Regions from separate parts of the Homo sapiens genome. Here regions 1 and 3 are each linked to region 2. Evidence: promoter capture Hi-C in 16 types of primary human blood cells and fetal thymus (Javierre and others, 2016). All regions are on one chromosome and are shown on one strand. The core of a region is centred on a gene start or on the middle of the fragment in contact, and the rest is flanking DNA. Distances in the headings are between cores, read along the strand shown. Region 1 has its middle 8.5 kb from the start of RABGGTA. Region 2 holds the start of ACIN1 (apoptotic chromatin condensation inducer 1). Region 3 overlaps DCAF11 (DDB1 and CUL4 associated factor 11).

Region 1 (3,415 bases), core at 292-2,791, 1.2 Mb after region 2:
TAATGTGTCTTTGTCAACCTGGAGGGAGGTCCCTAGTGATGGCACTTTTTCAGTGACGTGGGATGAGCACAGATGCCACTCTCATAATCGAAGGTCACTTGCACATAATTGGGAGGAATACTGGATGATGGCGTCTGGTGAGATTGTTGGGCCAGATTTGTCATGTGGTATTGAATAGGGACAGAATTACACTCTGGTTCTTTGGTCTTCAGATAATCAGCTGCACAAGAGTGAGATACGTGAGGGGTGGAATAACGATAGTGTATGAAGACAGGAGGACTCTGGCTGATAAGAGATTGGAAAGAATTGACTGTGATCTGCTTGCCAAAAGCACTAACATGACTTTGGGATGCACTAAGAGAGCTTTAGTACCCAGAACAATGGGGCTCATAGGCCCCAGACTCTGTGAGAGTCAAACCCTGTGAGGAGTGTGTGGCCCATTTTGAGAGGGACAGAGACAAACTGTAGAGTCCAGAGGTAGAAATCAGGATGGTGAGAAGAGCCCATGACCACAGGGAAGACATGAAGATACTGAACTGGGAGAGAAGATTCAAGGGGCAGATGATAATGGTCTTTCAACTCCTGGAATAGAAACCGAATTGATTCTGCATATCTTGAGAGCAAAGACCAAAGACCAGAGAGTGGATGTAGATCCTTTATGAGGAAGGACTTTCTAATAATTAAAGCTAATTATTCTACCAAAGGTAGAATGGGCCTCAATGAGAGGTGGGAGGCATTCAAGCATATGTTGGTCAACCACTTTGTGAGAACGTAGTAGTGGACATTCAGAGACCAGAGTCTCTCCACTCTGAAGTTCTGAAAGATGCTGATCCCTGGGATGGAGCAGGGGACTAGAGTAACTCAGAGCCCAAGAAGATCCTCTCCACTGCCCATTCCCCACAACTGACCATTCCTTGGACACTTGGTTTGAATGCTTGCATTCTTTCTCTTCTCCCTGCTCCCCAGTTCCTTCTGAGTCAGGCTGGGGAAATTGCTTGATGGCCCATGGGGGTTGCCACGTGCCTGTAGCACACTTCCTGGCTGGGGAAGAAGACGAAACAGGTTAGCCAGTGAGAAGGGAGGGCAGGTCCCCAAGGTTGCCCTAAAAGACAGAAGGGCCCCAGAGGGAAAGTCCCCACAAGAGCATTCTAACTCTCCCAGGGTGTGGTGGGTACTGACTCAGGTTGGCGTCTCTTGGGGAAGAGTTGAGGGAAAAGCAACCAAGAAATGGTGTTGAAAAGCTGGAAAAACTTCTTGAGCCAGCCAGAACTGAAGCCTCTGTGACAGGAGCCAGGCACTGCATGGTGACTGGTGATGATAATGACATGTTGGCTAAAAATTGCCCAGAGCACTGGTGGAGGTGGGAATGTAGCCAAGAAGCTCACTGCCTGGCAAGGCTGCTGCCCAGCTGCAGGGGGCACCATCACATTCGGTTTTGGGCATATATGATGTGAGTGGTACCAGGAGGCAGAAGCCCTGACGTTCTATGTCAAGTGAGAAGCAGAAGCTGTGGAACAAAGTGAGACTGTGGGTCCTGGGGAAGGATGGGATGCTGTCGCTGGTAGATGAACACAGGGGGCTAAGGACATACTCCTCTAGGGGAGGAAAGAGGAACCGCTCCTTTTGGGGGAGCACTCAGGCCTCGCCCTTTCCCTGTCCCATTCATCCATCCAACAAATACTGACTGAGGGCCCTCTGTGCCTGATCCACGCTAGGGTGGGGGCTGCGACAGTGAGCAGAGCACAGACAAAGTCCCTGCCTCACTGAGCATACAGGCTAGCCCTGGGCTGTTTAATCGAACTTTCTGGATGATGGAAATAATCACATAAGCAAATGTAGAAGGACAACTCTGTCAACTGCTCTGCCTTTATGGAGAGGCATATGGTGCTGGGTGAGCACCTGATGGGGAGCTGCCCTGTCTGAGAATGGGGGTGGGCTTCCTAAAGGAAGTGAGTGGGAGCTGGGGCTGTAGGTGAGCAGAAGCCCTGGCTTGGGGCTCGGTCAAGTGCCTCTTCTGTTCCTCTCAGCACCAGGTCCTGTGGTGCCTGCATTATAGCTCATCCTGTGGGTGCAGCGCCCCACTTCTGCTCCTGCTGTGAACTACCTACCCAAGGGGACTCATTTGACTGCATTTCCTCTCACCTAGCAAGGTGCCTGCACCATGGTGGTTGCTCAACTAACGTTAACATAATTTAGCCAGTCAATTATCAACCAACAATTATTGAGCGCCAGTACAGCTCAATATACAGTGGTGACCAAGACAGACAAGGTCCCTGCTGTCATAGGGCTTACATTATAGTTGGGGAGACAGTCCCTGTAGGAGCAAATACACACCTAAGACAATTTCAGGGAATCTAAGTGCCCCTGAGGGAAATGAAACAGGGTATTGAGACTAGTTGGGAAAGAATGAATGAATGAATAAATGGTGAGCCATGGAGGCACCCACCCACTGGGCTGGGGTGGGAGATGAGGAGGAGGAGTTGGGGATCTTAGAGCCCAGGGCAGGGAGCTTGGTCAGGGGTGGCTGCACTCCAGGCTGTAGGGCCAGGCCTCGCAGCACCGGGAGGGAGTGGACAGGGAGTGGTTCCGAAGCTCAGAATTCAGTGTAAAGGAGAATGCCTGGAACTGCTGACAGGAGCAATGCTGTGTTCCTGAGTCCCCTGTGGGCCCAATCATGACTCAGGCTTGAGCTCTGTGCCTGGCAAAGAACACTGAGGGGAAGAGGGGCAGGGAGGACCTGGAGTAGCCCTACAGAGGCATCCAAGGCTCCCACTGCTGGCAGCCCTGTTGGGAAATTCTCTCTTAGGCCCCTGAGCGGGGGTTTTGAGGCTGAGGTGTGGTGTGTGGGGCCGAGGCCAAGGACCGATGGATAGCAGGGATCAATGAGTCCTTAGAGGGTCAGTCCTGGGATACAGACACTGCCATGGCTGGCCCAGCATACCTCCCCTCAGGGAGGAAGGGTGGAGCTCTCACCAATTGGTCTCACTGGGCCTGTGAGTTCAGCCACACTCTGGGTTTGCCCCAGGTACTGTGCAGTTCTGTGCTGAAGGTTTCAAAGTTTCTGTGCATGGGGAAGGAGACAGCAGGAGAATGGGGGATGAAGGGTTCAAGACCTAATCCCTAACTTTGGGAAGGAGTCATCCTTATCCAGGAAATGGATGAAGACATCTATGGCTCTAACACTAGTCAAGAGCCAAGTGAATTTCATAGTAAGAGGTTCCCTGGAAGCGGGCAAAGCAAGGGTAGAAGACGCCAGGAGAAACTTCTAGGAGGTTGAGATGGGCCTGGCTGGATGAATTCTGGCAGGCAAAATGGGGTTGGGGGCTGGGTGAAAGAATGAGCAGTAATCCAGAGATCAGAACAGCTGGAGCAAAGGCGCAGAGGAAAGGGAGTGTGGTCAAGTTTAGGGAAGAGT
Region 2 (3,553 bases), core at 839-3,338:
TACACAGGATTGAACCCTTGGAAAATCTACATCAACAAGAGTTCTTAATCAGCAACTATTTCCCTACACTGCCATATTGGTGATCTACTTCATATCTATACTCAAAGACATCAACTACCTTTCCTAAATTCATGGCAGATAAATGACTTCAGATCTCTGTACTACACGTAATTAATGGAAGCCACACCTTTCTACACATGCCATTTCAATTATTATAAACTAACAGTGCCTCTGATTCTGTTCTTTACTCCAGGCCCTTGTATACAACTGGGTTGATTAGAATTCAACTGTCCTGGTTTGAGAACATTTCTGACTAAGAGAACTTAGGAAAACAGTCATGAGGACTTAAGCATCAAATATACAACACCACGTCCTTCCATGTGTCTGGATATCCAAAGGGCCCACTCCATTGAATACACCTTCTTTCTCACCTGGGAATTTGGCTGGAATGCAGCATGGGGTGTTGAGTGTTTCTGTAAATTTTCTAGCATTAGAGCCTGGTATAGAGAAGGGTAAAAGTCAGAAATGATGAGGAAAAAAAAGAAAAACAAACCCCCACCTCTACCACAACCTCTAAATTAAACGCAATGACTTAAATACACACAATTAAACTGTATTCCTTTTCCAGGGACCTGAAAACCCTTTACTAACACTGTTCTCATTCATCTTCAGAAGACCCATAAAGGTAGCCATGGTTACTGTTACTAAATGTACAGATATAAAATGCAGGCACACAGAATCAGTGACCTGGCTATGTCATAATATCAGTAATAGAACCAGTACTAAAATCCCTATTATCTTCTGCACTTTCGCCAAGTGCCCCTTCTAAATCTGATCATGCATGTAAAATTACTTAAAATACTCAAACCAGCCATGGGGCTCCTGGTTTTTGCCTGACGGAATTACTTGGTCAAAGGGTTACCCAGTACCAGGGTCAATTTGTATAATTTCCAGTACTGTGGCACCTAGATTTATCAAATTTATAAAATTTTCAAAGAGGAAGCTACAGAAGAAAATGACCACAGACCCTGTAAACTGTGGTCTAACCTAGTCTATCCACACAAACACACACACACAAACACACACACACAAAACTATCAGCTTCTGTATAAGCAACGGTCTGCCAACTCAACCCTGGAGCCAACCCAGACCTAATCTGCACTACCTGCCACGTATCCTGTTGAACTCTAATTAAAACCAAGACATCCTCATCTTCCCTTCTTTAAACCAAACCTATACACTTGAATCGAGCTACACCTACCTCATGACAATCCCACCTTAATCTACTCAAACCGATTCAAAATCCCCAATATATATCAACCTGCCTCGCCTCTCTCACCAATATTCACCAAACTCTTAACCACCCAAATTGCCACTAGATGCCACTAAATTAGAGACCTCTCTCTCATCAAGTCCCTTCAAATAAAGGTCTCTCTTCATCTCACCTCCTCATCTAATCGAGCAGACATTTTACCCTACCCCAGTCCTATTCGTGCAGATACCGATACCAACCCCATCCACCCCTTCGCGCAACTATACCCCTAACTCCGACCCAGCCCAACTCGCCCCCCTCAGGCCAGCAACGCCGTAGGTTGTAGTGGGATTTAACTCCTTCTGCAGCGCATGCGCCGAAACCACAGATACAAACAAGGAGGGGGTGGGGGAAGGAGGAAGGAGCTTAAGACACTCCTGGAGAGTAGTGCACACCCTCCCATTTGGGCTCGCGCTGCTGCCGTTAAGGCGGGAACCGGCGCGATCTCCATTCCAGCGCGAACCTCATCAACCACCGTGCGCGCGGATCCAGAGGCTCGCGCTGGCGGCCTGAGCGAGCTCGCGCCGAGCCCGGATACTGCGCCTGCGCCGCGGCAGAGGCTCGTCTCTACCGGGTCCGCTCTCCTCCGACACCCCAGCAACGCCGACTCCTCACCCCTTTGAGCCGCTTGACCAGGGCACTCTTCTGCCCGCTCTTGGCTAGGCCTCGCTGCTCCAGTGCGGCCTTCAGGTCGGTCACCCGCAGCGCCTGAAGAGGCTTCCCGTCCAGAGTCACCTCCTCCAGCTCCGCCATCTTGCGTGAGGTACTCGGGTCCGTCCCGACGGCTTCGGGCATCTTCGGTAATTTCCGCCAACGCCCTTCGAACGTACCGAGATGACCCCGCCCACTGCCATACTCTACCCCTCGATTACCACTCAGAACTCCCCGGGTTCCTCCGGATGTCCTCGGATGTTTCCGTCTCCACATCGTTACCAATCAATTCTTTCCATCCGCCCTGCAGCGCCCCTTTTCTCGCCCTGCTTTCAGGCTCGGTTTTCTTCGTCTTGCCGAAGCTTTGAATCGAATATATTCGGAAACCCTCGACCCTGGTATAACCATAATCGGAGATGTTCGTTTATTTCCGGACCTAGAGATGAGGCGCTGGGGCGCTTGGGTGTTTGGGGCGGGTCCGAGGCCGGAAGTGCGTGGGCTGCCGGGCTGGCCCAGCTTAGGGTTTTCAGGAAATTTGGAAGCTGCCGCAGTAGTTGGAGTCTAAGGACTCGTGACAATCTTCGGGTGCCCTTCGAGAGAAAAGGGGAGGTAAGCGGGGTAGAAGTACCTCTATGGGCCGGGTCAGACTCGGTGTTTGCGGATTACCTTAATAGGGCAAGCCCCCCACTCCTTAACGCAAACAGCTTCTGCCCTCTGTCCTCTGAATCATAGCCACTCCCATCTTAGGCTTTTTTTGGGGAGGGGCGGGGGGCTGGTGCGGAATCGGAATAACAAGCTCCGTGGGGGTGCGCAAGAAGCATCGCCGTGTCTTCGGACCCAGACTATGAACTGATCTATGACGCTGAACTTGAGTTTGAGTTTGCCTTGGAAGCCATGTGGCAAGATTCTGGGAAAGTTCTTCCTTGCTCCGCAGAAGAGAGTAAGTTCCCTTGGAGGAACTGCTTCCTGTAGGGCAAGAACTGGAAAATGCAAGCGCCCTGAACTTTTTTGGTACTTGAACTAATATTAATTGTTTAGGGGCTTCTTTCTTTGTCACTACCAATCCTCCAACTTGATGCAGAAGAAACACAAACAGTAAAATAGGTCACAGACAAATAGTTTAGAGATTTAAGAGATACGTTAGAGATTTAAGAGACTGAAAACTATTAAAGTCAAATTGGCTGATCTTTCCGTTGCATTCATGATGCAAAATCAGTGGCAAGGTGCCGGGCGCGGTGGCTTACGCCTATAATCCCAGCACTTTGGGAGGCCGAGGCGGGCGGATCACTTGAGGTCAGGAGTTGGAGACCAGTCTGGCCAATATGGTGAAACCCCGTCTCTACTAAAAATACAAACAAATTAGCCGGGCGTGGTGGCGTACGCCTATAGTCCCAGCTACTCGGGAGGCTGAGGCAGGAGAATCGCTTGAACCCAGGAAGCAGTGGTTGAGATCACGCCATTGCACTACAGCCTGGGTGACAGAGCAAGACTCCGTCTCAAAAAAAAAAAAAAAAAAAAAAAAAATTGCAAGGCACCAATAGATACCATACTAAAAAAAAAAAAAAATTTTTTTTTTGTCACTCCACTCTG
Region 3 (3,485 bases), core at 624-3,123, 1.0 Mb after region 2:
CATGGCGTACACACCCCCGGCGCACCACGTGGGCGTGAGGCGAGGAAGGAGGGGTGTTAGGCCAAATTCTATTTTCATTGGCTGTCACTGCTGCCGGCCTTTGTAAGGGGGCGCTCTGATTGGTCGATAAGGTGGGGGCGTCGAGGGTCTTTGAGTCCTAAGGCTTCTAATTGGTTAGATGAGATAAGCTAGTGAAGCGCTTTCTTCCGAGAGGGATTTCGATTGGTCGGTCAGAGAGGTTACCTGGAAATCCAACACCGCCCAACACCCCTCCCGCTCCCCAGTCCGGGGACTTCGATAGGTGAGTTTGGTGTAGAAAACAAATCTTTCTTCAGTTGGTGAGCTAGGGTAGCGCACTACGGTTCACTCTTGCTTTCTTTGCTTCACAGGATTGGAGAAGGTTTGTGTTCCCGACGCCTTGGTAGTTGGCATAGGCTAAAGAAAAGGGATCTCAGCCCCGAGGAAGGGTCACCCTCCTAGAGATAGCTACTACCCCGTCTCAGGAGACCCTGGTATTTCTAGAGCACGCTTTGCTTTCACCAAACCCAAGGAGGTGACAGGAGGAGCCCCCGCACAGGACCTAAGAATGCTGTGACCAGAAGATGGGATCGCGGAACAGCAGCAGTGCAGGATCCGGGTCCGGAGACCCCTCCGAGGGCTTGCCCCGAAGAGGGGCTGGCCTGCGTCGGAGTGAGGAAGAGGAAGAAGAGGATGAAGATGTGGATCTGGCCCAGGTACTGGCCTATCTCCTCCGCAGGTAACTTACCCTCTGGTGTGACCCCCAGCAGGTGCTACCACAGTGCCTTGATCCCAACTCCAGGCAGGAAAATTACAGAGGTTAGGAAATGGGATTCGCTCAGGACAGCTGTTCTGTTTGAGCTGAACAGCCTTTCCCTGCTGGGCACCCATGGCACTCAGCTCCATACCCAGTAAGAGTGGTTCTTACCTAGGGAGGGTCACCAAGAGGACCTGCTCATGTGTTTGAGGGGCTATTCAAGGGAGCCTGTCTCTGTGACTACACAAATATAGTCTATTTTCCAAGTAAGCTTGAAAAAAAAAAGGGGGGGGTCCTAGTGGGAAAGGAGTGATGTAAGGGGTGAAGAGATGGGAAGGGAGTGTTGAACTTTTTAGTAAGGCAGTTGACACATGATATGAGGCCACTTCGATTTACTTGAAAAACAAGTTTAATTTGCCCTGACTCTAACCTGTTCTTGAGGAAAGAATGCCTTGAAGGGAGAGACCACCTGGAATTGACTGGAAAAGGGTGCAGCTGGCTTTCTTTCTTTGCTTATGGCTCTTTGAGGAGAAGATGGGTTTGGGGGTCCCTTCAGAATATTGTATTCTTTTTTGTTTGTGTTTTGTGTTGTTTTTAGTAGACATAGACAGGGCTCACTGTGTTCCCCAGTCTGGAGAACGGGCTATTCACAGGTGTGATCAAGTGCACACCACAGCCTGCAACTCCTGGGCTCAAGCAATCCTTGCCTCCCAGGTAGCTAAGACTACAGTTGCACACACCACCGCACCCAGCTTAGAATATTGTCTTCTGTGGTGGACTTCTCAGGCAGAGGCTCAGAAGGAAATGCTGTGAGGATGTTTAGCTTGTTGGGAGGTCAACTTAGTAGGTCATGTCCACAGCGTATTGGTCTTGCTCTTGTTCTAAGGAAATGATGTTAGAATGTTTAGCTCGCTGGGAGGTCAACTTAGTAGGTCACGTCCACAGCATGTTGGTCTTGCTCTTGCTGTAAGAGTAAAACTCTCTTTCCTACTGTGTTTTATAGGAGACCAAAAATAACAGCCAAGGTCTAGTCAGCCTCAAACCTCAAAATGAGTACCAAGTGGTCTAAGAGCTAGATAGCCATTGACTCTGAATTTGGTTGGTTTGGGGGAAGAAGTCCCCTCCTTTATAATGGGGGTCTCTCCACAGAGGCCAAGTGAGGTTGGTGCAGGGAGGAGGTGCAGCAAATTTACAATTCATTCAGGCCCTCTTGGACTCAGAGGAAGAGAATGACAGAGCTTGGGATGGTCGTCTTGGGGATCGATACAACCCACCTGGTAAGAGGAAAAGCCCCTAATGTTGGAAGACTTTTACTAGAAAACCTTTTAGTGATATTTTGAATGATAGGTTACATTGAAAGAAGGTACGATAATTTAAGGAATAAGGAGTCCTTACAGCCCCAGTATATTCAGCCACAGGGGTGGGCTTGGGTACAGTTCTGCTAACTGTCCTCTGAGGCTGGCAGACCTAGGATGAAACTTCTCCTTGGTACTCACAGTGGATGCTACCCCTGACACCCGGGAGCTGGAATTCAATGAGATCAAGACACAAGTGGAACTGGCCACAGGGCAGCTGGGGCTTAGGCGGGCCGCCCAGAAGCACAGCTTTCCTCGAATGTTGCACCAGGTAGGCCTCTCCACCTCCCAGCCTGGCAGCAGGCCTGCCAAAGCAGCCAGAAGCTCTGCCAGCCCCAGAGAAAAAGGAAGTCAACTTTCCAAAGTAGAAGCCTCAAGCGCTGGGGCTGGAGAGTTAACCAGCCTCCATCGGAGTTCTGTGGGACAGACTATGATGTGTGTGTCCATTTCTATAACAAGAGCAATATCTTTGGAGGAGGGGGCTTGATATGGCTGAAGTGGCCCTCTATTTCTGCTAGCAATATTCCCCAATCCCTTCCATTTAGAGAGAACGGGGCCTCTGCCATCGGGGAAGCTTCTCCCTTGGAGAACAGTCTCGAGTGATATCTCAGTGAGTATGGGGCTTGGTGAAGAGACTCTAAGGGCCAGATAGGTCTTATCTCCTAAACTTTGAAGGGGTAGGTGTTAAAGGAGCCTCAGAGATATTAAAGGTTAGGTTAAATGGGGTTGAAACTTTGAGAGTAAACAAAGTAGAAAAGTGTAGAAAATTGTAGAAATTTAGAGGATGGTGGAATGGTTGAAAGACGGGATTGCACTCACAGCCAAAAGGGAAGAATGACTGTTCTGATATTCCAGCTCTGTTAGGATTCTGCTGATTGGGACACTCCTTATCCTGAGCACCCCTCACCCTCACTTTCTCTCTCCTTCCCTAGCTTCTTGCCCAATGATCTGGGCTTCACTGATAGCTACTCTCAGAAGGCTTTCTGTGGCATCTACAGCAAAGATGGTCAAATATTCATGTCTGCTTGCCAAGGTACCAGACCCTGGTCCTATAAACTATCTTTTCCTGGAACATGGGACATTCCCCCTGACTGAGGCTAGAAAGCCACAGACGGGGAGCTCAGACCTGGCTTAAGGATGCTTAGCCAGACCATGTTTCCCATGATAAAGGGAAGACTCCACAGGTACACTGAGTGGGAGATGTCTAATCTAGAAAAGTTACAAGGAAACTGTCCCATAATTCTGCCTGATCTTTACTTACACAGACCAGACAATCCGACTCTATGACTGCCGATATGGCCGTTTCCGTAAATTCAAGAGCATCAAGGCCCGCGACGTAGGCTGGAGCGTCTTGG

What was found. The method cuts DNA at HindIII sites, captures the fragments that hold promoters and counts their contacts. A CHiCAGO score of 5 or more calls a contact.
Region 1: a contact is called between a fragment that was not itself captured here and the fragment with the promoter of ACIN1 in region 2, in 1 of 17 cell types (M0 macrophages). The highest score is 7.7, in M0 macrophages.
Region 3: a fragment that was not itself captured here is called in contact with the fragment with the promoter of ACIN1 in region 2 in 1 of 17 cell types (erythroblasts); the score reaches 5.3 in erythroblasts.

What each region holds. Positions count from the first base shown.
Region 1 is chr14:24,278,387-24,281,801 of GRCh38, forward strand. It overlaps a transcript of NOP9 not described here. Among named protein-coding and RNA genes, the nearest start is that of RABGGTA, 8.5 kb to the left of the region's middle. RefSeq lists a silencer at 271-501 and enhancers at 1,059-1,208, 1,549-1,628. The HindIII fragment of the contact is 3,842 bases long and covers 1-3,415 here.
Region 2 is chr14:23,093,048-23,096,600 of GRCh38, forward strand. ACIN1 (apoptotic chromatin condensation inducer 1) reads right to left here and starts at 2,089. Exons shown (of 19, transcript NM_001386863.1): 1 at 1,928-2,089; 2 at 432-497. The coding sequence starts at 2,065. C14orf119 (chromosome 14 open reading frame 119) reads left to right here and starts at 2,458. Exons shown (of 2, transcript NM_017924.4): 1 at 2,458-2,572. RefSeq lists enhancers at 1,830-2,139, 1,845-2,368, 2,180-2,259, 2,280-2,489, 2,369-2,892. The HindIII fragment of the contact is 2,975 bases long and covers 1-2,323 here.
Region 3 is chr14:24,114,993-24,118,477 of GRCh38, forward strand. It overlaps DCAF11 (DDB1 and CUL4 associated factor 11), which reads left to right. Exons shown (of 15, transcript NM_025230.5): 1 at 1-301; 2 at 390-757; 3 at 1,925-2,052; 4 at 2,274-2,401; 5 at 2,676-2,740; 6 at 3,063-3,163; 7 at 3,396-3,485. The coding sequence starts at 603. Among named protein-coding and RNA genes, the nearest start is that of NRL, 1.8 kb to the left of the region's middle. The HindIII fragment of the contact is 1,658 bases long and covers 1,045-2,702 here.